Linked DNA regions of Homo sapiens: region 2 is linked to region 1. The links are contacts of gene promoters, found by promoter capture Hi-C in human tissues and cell types (Jung and others, 2019). All regions are on one chromosome and are shown on one strand. Each heading gives the region's core, a stretch centred on a gene start or on the middle of the fragment in contact. The rest is flanking DNA. Distances are from core to core; before and after follow the strand shown. Region 1 holds the start of TNP2 (transition protein 2). Region 2 has its middle 19 kb from the start of LINC01290.

What was found. The method cuts DNA at HindIII sites, captures the fragments that hold promoters and counts their contacts. A contact is called where the count stands out against the background at its distance.
Region 2: a contact is called between a fragment that was not itself captured here and the fragment with the promoter of TNP2 in region 1, in 1 of the 25 tissues and cell types used here (lymphoblastoid cells).

Annotation. Positions count from the first base shown.
Region 1 is chr16:11,264,781-11,271,131 of GRCh38, forward strand. TNP2 (transition protein 2) reads right to left here and starts at 4,545. Exons shown (of 2, transcript NM_005425.5): 1 at 4,083-4,545; 2 at 3,077-3,232. The coding sequence starts at 4,482. The coding sequence ends at 3,216. The region is part of intron 1 of LOC105371082 (a long non-coding RNA gene); the gene reads left to right. RefSeq lists an enhancer at 1,246-1,746. The HindIII fragment of the contact is 5,287 bases long and covers 1,696-6,351 here.
Region 2 is chr16:10,505,535-10,512,645 of GRCh38, forward strand. No RefSeq gene overlaps it. Among named protein-coding and RNA genes, the nearest start is that of LINC01290, 19 kb to the right of the region's middle. RefSeq lists an enhancer at 4,285-4,374. The HindIII fragment of the contact is 4,790 bases long and covers 1,377-6,166 here.

The DNA of each region.
Region 1 (6,351 bases), core at 3,295-5,794:
AACAACCTGGAACATTTCCCTGCTGTGAGAGGAGGATAAAGGGACCCAAGGAAAGGAGACTGATGGTGACATTGAGTGGCATTGATCGGGTGGACCAGGCCCTCTCTTGGATGCTTGCAGGTGCATTATCTCAATGAACCTCCACTGGGACCCCTCCAGGCAGGCACCATTAGCCTCCCATTTTACAGAAAAGACCAGGATGCAGACAGGGGACATGACTTGCTCAAGGCCACACAGCTGAGATCTGAAAGAGGACCTTCCATGTCATGCCACTGCCTGGGATGGGCTCAGCAAAGCTTGGAGTCCTGCAAGGCCTTCCCCAAGACACCTGGGTCCATTTCCCTTCCCTGCAGACAGCCCATCACCACTCATTTCTACTCCTGCCCCACCTCCCTTCACCTGTTCACCCTGTTCCTTCAGCCCAAATGTCAAATGCAGCACAAAAGAAAACAAAGTGACCCTGTGTCTGGCGCTATGCTGGGCAGCTTATCACACACCAGGCTGCTGGGTACCCCGCCCCCCAGTATGTCAGAACGATGAGCCCATTAGACAGAGGGGGAGAGTGAGGCTCAGAGTGGTCTAGTCCCAGCCGCCGCAGCTAGGATAGTGAGAACTAGGGCAAACTTGAGTCTGACCCTAAAACCAAGGCTTGTGGGTATGAAGGTCAGAAGCCAATTTACCCAAGACCCTGACCATTCCCCAGTCCTTTTGTCTGGCAGCCGGCATTCCTTCACGAAAATCTGCCTGGTACTTTTTATGCCATGTTAACAGCAGAGGTTTACTGAGTGCCAAGCACTGAGCCCAGACACCATGTCACATGCATGACACACTGACCTCTCCCAACCTCCCAGCAAGGGTGCCCATTTTGCAAATGAGAGCAGGTTTCCTACTTGGAAGCAGGGTTCTGTCTGGTTCACCCTTATCTTCCCTCCTTGGCCTTAGCCCAAAGCCCACACAAGTGGGTGCTCAGTAAATGTTTGCGAAAGAGGAATGAGGAAGGCAGGACTCTGGGCATTATCTTGGGAGGAACCTCCAGCCCACCCGTTGTGGAAAATCACCCCGCTAGACCGGGCTGCCATTCTGCCAATTGCTGTACCCTGTCCCATCCCCTGCAGTCCAGTCTCCACACAGCAGCCAGCACCACTTTGAAAACACACACCAGGTGGCCGGGCGCAGTAGCTCACGCCTGTAATCCCAGCACTTTGGGAGGCCAAGGCAGGCGGATCACAAGGTCAGGAGATCGAGACCATCCTGGCTAACACGGTGAAACCCTGTCTCTACTAAAAATACAAAAAAGTTAGCTGGGCGTGGCGGTGTGCACCTGTAGTCCCAGCTACTCGGGAGGCTGAGGCAGGAGAATGGTGTGAAGCTGGGAGGCGGAGCTTGCAGTGAGACGAGATGGCGCCACTGCACTCCAGCCTGGGCGACAGAGCAAGACTCCATCTCAGAAAAAAAAAAAGAAAAAAGAAAACACACACCAGGCTTGGTGCAGTGGCTCACGCCTGTAATCCTAACACTCTGGGAGGCCGAGGTGGGAGGATTGCTTGCGCTCAGGAGTTTTTAAGACCAGCCTGGGCAACATAGTGAGACCCCATCTCTACAAAAAGTAAAAAAATAAGCCGGGCACAGTGGCTCACGCCTGTAATTCCAGCACTTTGGGAGGCCAAGGCGGGTGGATCACTTGAGGTCAGGAGTTTGAGACCAGCCTGACCAACATGGTGAAACCTCGTCTCTACTAAAAAAATACAAAAATTGGGGTGTGGTGGGAAAGGGGAGGGAGAGCATTAGGACAAATACCTAATGCATTCAGGGCGTAAAACCTAGATGACGGGTTGTTAGGTGCAGCAAACCACCATGGCACATATATACCTGTGTAACAAACCTGCATGTTCAGCACATGTATCCCAGAACTTAAAGTAAAATGAAATAAAAATAAAAAGCAGTGACAAAACTTGCCTGCACAGTGGGGGAAAAAAATTACAAAAATTAGCCAGGTGTGGCGGGCACCTGTAATCCCGGCTACTTGGGAGGCTGAGGCAGGAGAATTGGTTGAACCCAGGAGGCAGAGGTTGCAGTGAGCTGAGATGGCGCCACTGCCCTCCAGCCTGGGCGACAGAGCGAGAAGTCAAAAATAGCTAAGCATGGTGATGCATGTCATGCTACTCGGGAACCTGAGGCGGGAGGATGGCTTGAGCCTGGGAGATCAAGGCTACAGTGAGCCATGATTGCATCACTAAACGCCAGCCTGGGTGACAGAGTGAGATGGTCTCAGAGAAAAAAGCACACACCAGACTCTATCAACTCACCCAGTTGAGACCCTCCCCTGACTTCTCACACCAAGAATAATGTCCAAGCTCCTTCCTGCGGAGATTGGTACAACCCCGGCATGGTCTGGCCCCCACCTGGTGCCCCCAGCTCATGTCCCAGCACCTTCAGATTCTATGCCAGCTCCTCTGGAACACAGGTTCTAACCCAGGCTCATTCCCTCACGGGGACATGACATCACCCTGCTCCCTTGATACAGCTCATTCTGACAAGTCTTGTGTGTTTGGACTGTAAGTTCCATGAGGGCAGGGCCTTGTGTGTTCTCTAGTTCTGTTCCCAGAGCCCAGCACAGTCCCTGAACAGACTTTGGTCCCTTAGTAAAAGTTTGTTGAAATGGCTGCTTTGAGGAACGTTGAGGTTGGTACTATGTTACAGAATCAACAAGTGAGACTCAGAGGTTGGTCACAGTCCAGGGTCACACAGCGAGTACGAAAGATGAGCCAGGATTCAAACTCAGGATGCTCTGGATTGCAAAAGGCACATTCTGAACCCCTCTTCCTGTCTCCTGTCGTGTTCTTGGGCTACATACATGTGGATCACGTGAATAGGTTGTGGACATGTGTGCATCTTGTGTGTCCACATGTGTACACACCCATGTGGGAGCATACAGGGCAAAAGATTGTTATCCAAGCAGAGTGGACTCTGCAGGCTTCTTGGCATCCTACCCCCATTCATTTCTGCCCCTGTGCAGGCCCCCAAAACACATAACACCTTTATTAGTGAAATCAAAATGACTATGACTACTCAGGGATAGTCTTCCAGGTACAAGCTTTAATTAGTGTTGCGTAGAAATCACCATAGTAACATGTTCCTGCAAGAAGATTGACTTCATCCTAGCATTTTCTCCTTTGGGTGAAACACGCAGGAACAAGCCAAGGAGTGCGGTCTCATTAGTTGGATTTCCATCCTAAGGGATAAGAGTGGGAAAGGAACCTTTAATAGCTGAGCACTTCATGAAGTCAGTGACCTCCTTGACCTCCTGTAAGGTCTTACAACTACTCATTTGTGATTGAATATGGGACATAGATAGAGTTTAGACTACCGTCAGTGTCCTTTTGACCTATGTGAATCCAGGTATCCATCCATTTATCCCTTCCATTTGTCATCCACCCATTCATTAGTTCACTCATTCCATTCATTTATTCAACATTTCTTTCCCATTCTATCCCATTAGTCTAGATATCTATTCTTCTCTCTGTTTATTCAATTACTCTATATTACTCTATTAAGATAATATTTAACCAATCAAACCAACCCATCAAAACTTCTACAACTATTTAACTCTATTTCTAACCAATTCATCCACCAACCACAATCTTCAAACTGATCATCTACCTAACCAACCAAATAACTAGCCAGCCAGTGCATTCATCCATTTATCCATCCATCCAGCTAATCGTATCCAAACTTCCTATCATTCAGCCAATGCATTCTTCCAACTATCCTTTCTATAACCTATTTATTGTTTACCCACCCAGTCATCCACCCAACCTCTCAACTCCATTCATGCTTTCATCTAGCTTATCTGCTATCTGTCCATCTTTCCATCCTCCTAATCAACCCATCCAATTTCAAAGAGACTTTCCGTCAATGTATCATACATTCAGCTAGCCAACTGCCATTGTTTCTCTTCTCCCTCTTCCTTCTTGCCTGTGGTTCCTTTGTGACCTGGCTGCAGCCTTCCTCTCACTGCCCCCAAGGTCTGCTCTCCATCATCTGTGGGCTCGGTGGCCCTTCCCCACCTCCTTAAAGGGTACCTGAGCTCCGCGTCTTGGTTTTGTACACCTGCTGGATCCTCTTGGCCATTTTTTTCTTTTTCAGCTTGCCTTCCAAGTTCTTTCTGTTCTTGGGGCAGCGGCAGTGCAGGATGGTGGGCCGCATGGGAGAGTGGTGGGAGTTCATAGTCTTTTTGTGGCGCTTTGGTGGTGGACTAGTGTTGGGACTCTGGCTCTGGTGGCCGGATGAGCTGTGGGCTCCAGTTGGGTTGCGGTGGCTGGCCGGGCTCTGGCTGGAGCTCTGGCTCCGGCTGCCACGATGGCTCTGTCTGCAACTCTGGCTGAAGGTTTGGCAATGGCGGGTGCAGGTGCGGCTTTGGGGCTGAGAGTTGCTATGGAGCTGAGTGTGGGTGATAGGAAGGCTGTGAGTCTGGGTGTCCATAGGAGGCCACGTTTGGAGGGGCAGGGCCTCCTCCTCATCCTCTCCCAGCAGGCCTAGCTTTACAGAGGCCCTGGCAGCCCACCTGGTTATATAGTTGGGGCTGATTATGATGGCCCAGGCCACAGGGGTGTGAGAGATGTGGCTCAGCCAAGACAAAGCCCCCTACCCCTTACCCTCACCCCCAGGCTGGGGCAGCTCTCAGGGGTACCCTGGGGATAGTCCCAGCTACTGGTTCAGGGTAGGAGCCCTTGGGTCAGATTAAGCTGAGTCTGCATCCCAGATCTGCTTTTTCCACATGGTCAGCCCTGGGAATTCGCCTGAACAAGTCCCAGTTTCCCCATCTCTGCAGAATAGGGATAATAATTGTACTGACCTCATTCGGACATTAGAAGAATTATTAATAAAGGAGAGAATTTATATCAAGCAGTTAGCTCAGGCCCAGCCCACAATAAGAGCTCAGTAAACATCACTGACCAGCATCATCAGGTGTTTTTCTTAACGCCCTGGGCAACTTGGGTACCAGGAGTGCAGCCCTGACCCTGGTGATGGCAGCTGAATGGTGGGCAGTTGTTAAGACAGATGATTAGTGCCCAGATGATGGGGAGGTGATGAATTGGTCAGATGGCTTGGTGGATGGATGAAAGATGAGTAACCACATGGACCAAGGGGTGGTCCTGGGGCTCGCTTGGCAAGCCTACCTCCCCAGCCAGATCTAAAGTCGGGAAATTCAGAGCCGGGTTCAAATCCCAGTTTGCACTGATGTCCAGTCTTGGGTAGGCCATTGTGGTTTCTGAGGCTTAATTGCCGTATGTGACAAAGGGGTGTCTTTCCTTCTTTCCTGGTATTCTCGTGAGCCTGAGATGCCTGTCAAGCTACAGGAGGCCCTTGGAAACCCGTCTCTCTCCTTCAGTTTCTGCCTCTTGATTCTCCTCCCCTTCCTGCTAACGAAGCCTCGCCATACCGTTTGAATCACGCCGTCCCTGCTCAGATACCCCAGTACCTCTAGAAGAAAGCCCAGACTTATGTTTGAACACTAAGCCATTTGATCTTCTAGTCTTTGGGTTTCCATCCAGAGCCCTCCACCCCTCCCTGTCTTGGCCGATGCCTTTGGGCTTAGCCCTTGGCCCTGTACTTTCCCACTTCTCTCTGCATGGAACTTCCTCTGTCTCTGTCTGTCCTCCCCGAGCAGGCCTCCGGCCCAAGCCAACCTCTCACTCTGCCCATGTGCAACTTTGCCTCTTGCTATGAGGATTTGCAATCGTCTGCTTTTATGGAAGTTTTTTTCTTTTTCTTTTTCTTTTGAGAAAGGGTTTTGCTGTGTTGCCTAGGCTAGAGTGCAGTGGCACAATTACAGCTCACTGCAGCCTCCACCTCCTGGACTCAAACGATCCTCCCACCTCAGCCTCCCAAGTAGCTGTGACTACAGGTGCATGCCACCACACCTGTCTAATTTTTTTATTTTTATTTTTGTAGAGATGGGGTCTCACTTTGTTGCTTAGGTGGGTCTTGAACTCATGAGCTCAAGGTTTTCTCCTGCTTTGGCCTCCCAAAGTGCTGGCACTACAGGCATGAGCCAATATGCCCAGCCTTTGCAGTTTATTTCTTAATAAACATTTCAAATTTCTTACAGTGAGAACTGCTTTCATTTACTGAATGCTTTCTATGTGGCTGGGCTCTGGACCTTACCCTCTCCAGGCAGCTTTGCCCTCAAACCTCACAGTGACCCTTTGTAGTGGAATGAATGGCAACCCCCAAAAATCTATGTCCACGTTATAACTCCTAGAACTTGTCAATGTGATATTTGGAAAAGGGGTCTTTGCAGATGTAATTAAGCTAAGAATCTTGAGATAAGCATGTTGGCTTAGCTGG
Region 2 (7,111 bases), core at 2,522-5,021, 760 kb before region 1:
GCCTGAAGAATCACAAAAGAAGTGAAAATGGCCTGTTCCTACCTTAACTGACAATATTACCTTGTGAAATTCCTTCTCCTGGCTCATCCTGGCTCAAAAGCTCCCCCACTGAGCACCTTGTGACCCCCACCCCTGCCAGCCAGAGAACAACCCCCTTTGACTGTAATTTTCCACTACCTACCCAAATCCTATAAAACAGCCCCACCTCTATCTCCCTTCGCTTCAGCCCACCTGCACCCAGGTGATTAAAAAGCTTTATTGCTCACACAAAGCCTGTGTGGTGGTCTCTGCACACAGACACGCATGAAAGTTACCCTATATGGTCTAAAAAAGGGGAGGCATGAATAATCCACCCCTTGTTTAGCATATAATCAAGAAATAACCATAAAAATGGGCAACCAGACAGGTGCAGTGGCTCATGCCTGTAATCCCAGCACTTTGGGAGGTCGAGGCGGGTGGGTCACCTGAGGTCAGGAGTTTGAGACCAGCTTGGCCAATATGGTGAAACCCCGTTTCTACTAAAAATACAAAAATTAGCTGGGTATGATGGCATATGTGCCTGTAGTCCCAGCTACTTGGGAAGCTGAGGCAGGAGAATCGTGCCATTGCAGTCCAGCCTGGGTGACAGAGCAAGACTCTGTCTCAAAAAAAAAAAAGGGGGGGCAACCAGCAGCCATCAGGGTTGTTCTGTCTATGGAGTAGCCATTCTTTTATTCCCTTACTTTCCTAATAAACTTGCTTTTACTTTAATCTGTGGACTCACCCTGAATTCTTTCTTGTGTGGAGTCCAAGAACCCTCTCTTGGGGTCTGGATCGGGACCGCTTTCCTGTAACACCGAGGCTGTGTGTCACAGGAATATCCTTAACCTTGGCAAAACACACTTTCTAAATCGATTGAGATCTGTCTTTCATACTTTTGGGTTCACAACTGAAATGTGCAGTGAGACTTATTTTATACCATATTATTTTGTGTATTTTCTTTGTTTATTATCCTTTTTGTTTGCTTATTTTTCTCCTTCTATTCCTTCTGTTGAAACGTTTCCTTTCTTCCTTCTTCCTTCTGCTTGTTTACAGTAATTTCATTGTTTTTCTGTTCTTTCAGTGACTTCCCTCAAATGTCAACATACATTACTTTTTTTTTTTTTTTTTTCGAGACAGAGTCTTCCTCTGTCACCCAGGCTGGAGTGCAGTGGTGCGAGCTTGGCTCACTGCAACCTCTGCCTCCCAGGTTCAAGCGATTCTCCTGCTTCAGCCTCTGGAGTAGCTGGGATTACAGGCATGTGCCTCCATGCCCGGCTAATTTTGTATTTTTTAGTAGAGACGGGGTCTCTCCATGTTGGTCAGGCTGGTCTCGAACTCCCGACCTCAGGTGATCCGCCCGCCTCGGTCTCCCAAAGTGCTGGGATTACAGGCGTGAGCCACCATGCCCGGCCAACAATTTTCAACTCGTGTCAACCTTGTGTCATCTAAACCCTGTATACCTTCTCAGCTCCCATCAGGCACTGAATTATTATGATGCAGATCTGTGATATGTCATTTTATTCATAATGTTTTAATATCAACATACATTCAAAACCTTTTTTCCCAACAAAGTCTAATCCATATCTCTGACATCCTTCCAATCAAGAAAAGGATCTTACAAGAAAATGCCTTAACTACAGGTTGCCTACCCCAGATAAACACCTACTGCCTGATTGATTGATTGAGACAGAGTTTTCCGCTCTTGTTGCCCAGGCTGGAGTGCAGTGGTGCAATCTTGGCTCACTGCAACCTCTGCCTCCCGGGTTCAAGCAATTCTCCTGCCTCAGCCTCCTGCACAGCTTGGATTACAGGCATGTGTCACCATGCCCAGCTAATTTTTTGTATTTAGTAGAGACGGGATTTTACCATGTTGGTCAGGCTGGTCTCGAACTCTTGACCTCAGGTAATCCACCCGCCTCAGCCTCCCAAAGTGCTGGGATTACAGGTGTGAGCCACTGCACCCAGCCTATTTGTTATTTTTATCAATAAGTTTAGACCCATCTTTTAAAAGCAAAAAGAGCTCATTACGGCTGTTTCCAGTCAATAATTGTTTAATTTACTGGCATTTTTATCATATTTCTGTATTCACCATTTTTCTTGCATCCCACACTTTTTCTTTCAATGAGGGGCTATAGGTGTTAAATTCTCTGATTGTGGGTGTATCTGATATATCTTTATTCCACCCTCAATCTCGAACTATGGTTCCAGGAATTGCCAGATTCTACTCATTAATGGATATTTAACAAATTCTGCAATATTCTCTTTACCATCAGCCTTGGCTCCAAACTGCTTTAACTTGGAAAGATATCCAGTCTCTTTACCCTCACTTCTTCCAAACTTCCACAATTCTCTTGCTCTCTTTCCTTAGAGAAGTGCAAGAACTCAATGCAGAACCTATCAATGTATAGACTTTAAGATGAGGTGGCACAGAAGAACAATAAGGGGGGATAGGTTCACATTAAATACAGATAAGTAAAGCTTAAGCAGGATTTTTGGAAAACAGAGACAATGCTAGAGTAACAGGTTTAGTTGCCAAAGGATTTCTCTCTACCCATCTCAGCAAGAGAGAATCAGGTCTCCTGAGATTAATTGGTTTTATTTAATTAATTTATTTTTTAAGATGGAGTCTCAGTCTGTCACCCAGGCTGGAGTGCAGTGGTGCGATCTCGGCTCACTGCAATCTCCGCCTCCCAGGTTCAGGTGATCCTGCCTTAGCCTCCCGAGTAGCTGGGACTACAGGCACACACACCACCAAACCTGGCTAATTTTTGTATTTTTTTAGTGGAGTCGGGGTTTCACCATGTTGTCCAGGCTCCTCTTGAACTCCTGACCTCAAGTGATCTGCTTGCCTCCGCCTCCCCTGAGTGCTGGGATTACAGGTGTGAGCCACCGTGCTTAATAAGTTTTAACTAAGTATTCCAGGCACAAAAAGTAGAGAGAGAAAGAGATAACAGTCAAATTAATCACCTCTAATTCTGAAATTCACACCTGATCTAGCTCTCATAGAGAAATGCTGGTCCTCAACCCTGGTCACATATCAGAATCATCTGGGAAATATTTAAAACACAAAAATGTTTTGAACAAATTCAATAATAAATCTCTGTAACTATAGGCCTCATGGAACCTATCACTTCTTCCTTTTGCTATTTTAATAAAAGATCTCAGTTTTAGAAACAATTCAGGGGTCGATTTTGGCTGTATTTGGACATTCCAAAAGTTAAAGTAATTGGTCTAGGGACATCTGAATAAGGACATCCTTTTATATTATAAAAGAACATTCTTTGGTAGTATAAGGACATCCTTGTATAATCTACCTAGGATATTCATTCAGTAATGAAGAATTTTTGACTTTTGGCCTGGCCTGTGCTAGAGTTGACCACCTTAAACTGTTAACAAAATGCAGATCCCATCAGTGAAGGTCCTGTGACAGCAAGCAAGTGTGTCGGGGGAATAACTTGCAGGAAAGATACAGGTTGATTCACAGAAAGAAAAGAATATCAGATTTTCTTTGTGATGCTCCCACTGGAATGACTTAATATGCCAATCTTTGAAACAATAATTGTGCTAGGGAAGGGGCTAAAGTGATTAACATTCCCAACTACCCCAAAGTAAGGAAAGAAATGCAAAACAGGCAAAATTAACAGGTGTGTATGCCGGGCACGGTGGCTCATGCCTGTAATCCCAGCACTTTGGGAGGCCGAAGTGGGTGGATCACCTGAGATTGGGAGTTCGAGACCAGCCTGACCAACATGGAGAAACCCCATCTCTACTAAAAAATGCAAAATTACCTGGGCGTGGTGGCACATACCTGTAATCCCAGCTACTCCGGAGGCTGAGGCAGGAGAATCACTTGAACCCAGGAGGTGGAGGTTGCAGTGAGCCGAGATCGCACCATTGCACTCCAGCCGTGGTAACAAGAGCGTAACTCCCTCTCAAAAATAAAACAAACAAACAAACAAAAAACAGGTAGTGCTATGTAAATGCTTAAACAGTTGGGGTAAGTTATTGCCACACTAGGCTGGCTGGTGGACTGATCCGGTAATTCTCCCTATTAAGTGACATGTTACTGAATAGGCCAGAGCAAAGGTGATTTGGCATCCTCTGTCGTTATTTGCAAACTTGGATCTCAATTCAGGAGCTAAGACCATGTACTTGGGTCAGGCAGCAAGCATGAGCCCGCCTGACTCTAAGTTCTTGGCTGCCACCTGGTGGTAATGTTGAAGGAACACACCACTCCCATCAACAGATTAATGTGGATGGAAGGGACTCCACTCAATACTTCATCTGGTTGCTGAGACAGGAACTGAAAATATAAACGATGATTTTTAAGGGGCACTGCTCTACAAATATGTGTAGTTCCCTTGCTAATGAAGAAAGAGAAACCCTACTCCATCATCAAGAGGCGTCCTCTGGGCCCTTCCAGCATTTATCTACATCCCGTGTGCAGCTGGTTGAACTGGGTCCCCCACCCCAAGAGATGTCTTCATCCTAGAATCTGTGAATGTGACCTTATTTGGAAAAAAGGATCGGCCAGGCACGGTGGCTCATGCCTGCTGTAATCACAGCATTTTGGGAGGCCAAGGCAGGAGGATTGCTTGTGCCCAGGAGTTTGAGACCAGCAATATAGCGAGACTCCATTTCTAAAAAAAAAATAAAAATTAGCCAGGCATGGTGGCCCACACCTGTAGTCCCAGCTACTCAGGAGGCTGAGTTGGGAGGATCACCTAAGTCCAGGAGATTGAGGCTCCATGAGCTATGATCATACCACACTGTACTCCAGCCTGGGCGACAGAGTGAGACTCTGTCTTAAAAAAGAAGAGGGGAGGGGAGGGGAGGGAAGGAGAGGGGAAGGGAGGGAAGGGGAGGAAGGGGAGGGGAGGGGATCTTCGCAGATGTGATTAAGAATCTCCAGATGAGATCATCTTGGATGATCTCAGCCCAAATTAAATGACAAGTGTCCTGATAAGAGACACACAGAGATGAGAGAGAGAAGAAATGCAATGTGAAGACAGAGGTGGAGATTGGAACAATGCAGCCAAAAGCCAGGGAATGCCTGGAGCCACCAGGAGCTAGAAGAAGCAAGGATGAGTTCTCCATGAGGGCCTCCAGAGGGGGCATAGTCCTGTGGACACTTCAGCCTCCAGAATGGCAAGAAAAATAATTTCTGTTGTGTTAAGTCACCAAGTTTATAGTATTTTTTTTTTTTTTTGAGATAGAGTCTCACTCTGTTGCCCAGGCTAGAGTACAGTGGTGCGATCTCGGCTCACTCCAACCTCTGCCTCCCGGGTTCAAGTGATTCTCCTGCCTCAGCCTCCCGAGTAACTGAAATTACAGGTGTGTGCCACCATGCTTGGCTAATTTTTGTATTTTTAGTAGAGGCGGGGTTTTGCCATGTTGGCCAGGCTGGTCTCGAATTCCTGACCTCAAGTCAACCACCCACCTCAGCCTCCCAAAGTGCTGGGATTACAGGCATGAGCCACCACGCTTGGCCATTTATAGTAATTTGTTATAGCAGCCCTAGCCTGACTAATACATTCCCTCTCCACTGGGAGCCATGGTTTGTTCAAAGAAATGATACCAGGCCCTCACCCCACATGCCATGGAGGTGGGTTCCCCTGCATACTCTTAGACACCCACATTTGCTGGGAGACATTTTACCCATCAATAACGAAGCTGCAAAGCCCTCCATCAATCCCGTCAAGAGCTCTTACCTCAATCAGATGTGCCCAGCATCATGAAAGCAGAGAGGCCTTATCCTGAATTGTCAGATGGCAGTCAAGGTTGCAAAAGCAGAGACAGACTAACGATCTTACATATTACCCATGACCACAAATCCAGGATGACAGACTGGAAGAACTGAACTGAACGTAGAGAGAAAAAAGAGGACGGGTGCGGTGGCTCATGCCTGTAATCCCAACACTTTGGGAGGTGGAGGCGGGTGGATCATTTGAGGTCAGGAGTGTGAGACCAGCCTGGCCAACATGGTGAAACCCTGTCTCTACTAAAAATTCAAAAATTAGCTGGGTGTGCTGGCGGTTGCCTGTAAGGAGCCTGAGGCAGGAGAATTACTTGAACCTAGGAGGCAGAGGTTGCAGTGAGCACTCCAGCCTAGGCGATACAGCAAGAGTCCATCTCAAAAAAAAAAAGAGACAGAGAAAGAGCCGTATAAGGAAGACAAATATAATCCTTGCAGTTCCTGCCTTTCACCCTCTTGAGACTTTGGGAGGAGGGGTGTGTATCTACCTTGATTTTCTATTGGTGTTGAAGGGGATCAGAATACATTACCCCAGAAGAGGCCACTTCGGCATAAGGATTATTTTGAGCTGAGGGCAACTGAGAAACTGCAGACAAAAAGAGCTCTCTACCCACTCCCTTTCTGCCTAAAAGCAGGGAAATTCCCCATGTAAAGATGTTTCTCTATACCAAGGCAGGGTGACTGGCACAGAGATGAGTTGGCATGACAAACATTACTAAACAACCCTTACCCACCACTTCCTAGTCATCTTTCCACAACTTACCAGCCCTAGGAACCCAAACTCTCCCTCCCTCCCTCTCTCTTTCTCAGATTCTCTGTCACCTAGGCTAGAGTGCAGTGACACAATCATGGCTCACTGCAGCCTCCAACTCTTGGGCTCAAGAGATCCCCCCACTTCAGCCTCCTGAGTATCTGCAACTACAGGCACACACCACCACTCCTGGGTAATTTTTTTTTAAAAATTGCTTTTTTTGATCATGCACAGTGGCTCATGCCTCTAATCCCAGCACTTTGGGAGGCCAAGGCAGGCAGATCACCTGAGGTCAGGAGTTCGAGACCAGCCTGGCCAACATGGTAAAACTCAGTCTCTACTAAAAATACAAAAAATTAGCCAGGCGTGGTGGCTTGTGCCTGTAGTTCCAGCTACTTGGGAGGCAGAGGCAGGAGAATTGCTTGAATCCAGAAGGCGGAGGTTGCAGTGAACCAAGATCATGCCATTGCACTCCAGCCTGGGTGACAGGGTAAGACTCCATCTCAAAAAAAAAAAAAAGGAAAATGGTATATAAGCCCCCAAGTCTAACCACTGCTTTGCATTTTTGCTCCTTTTATGTGAAG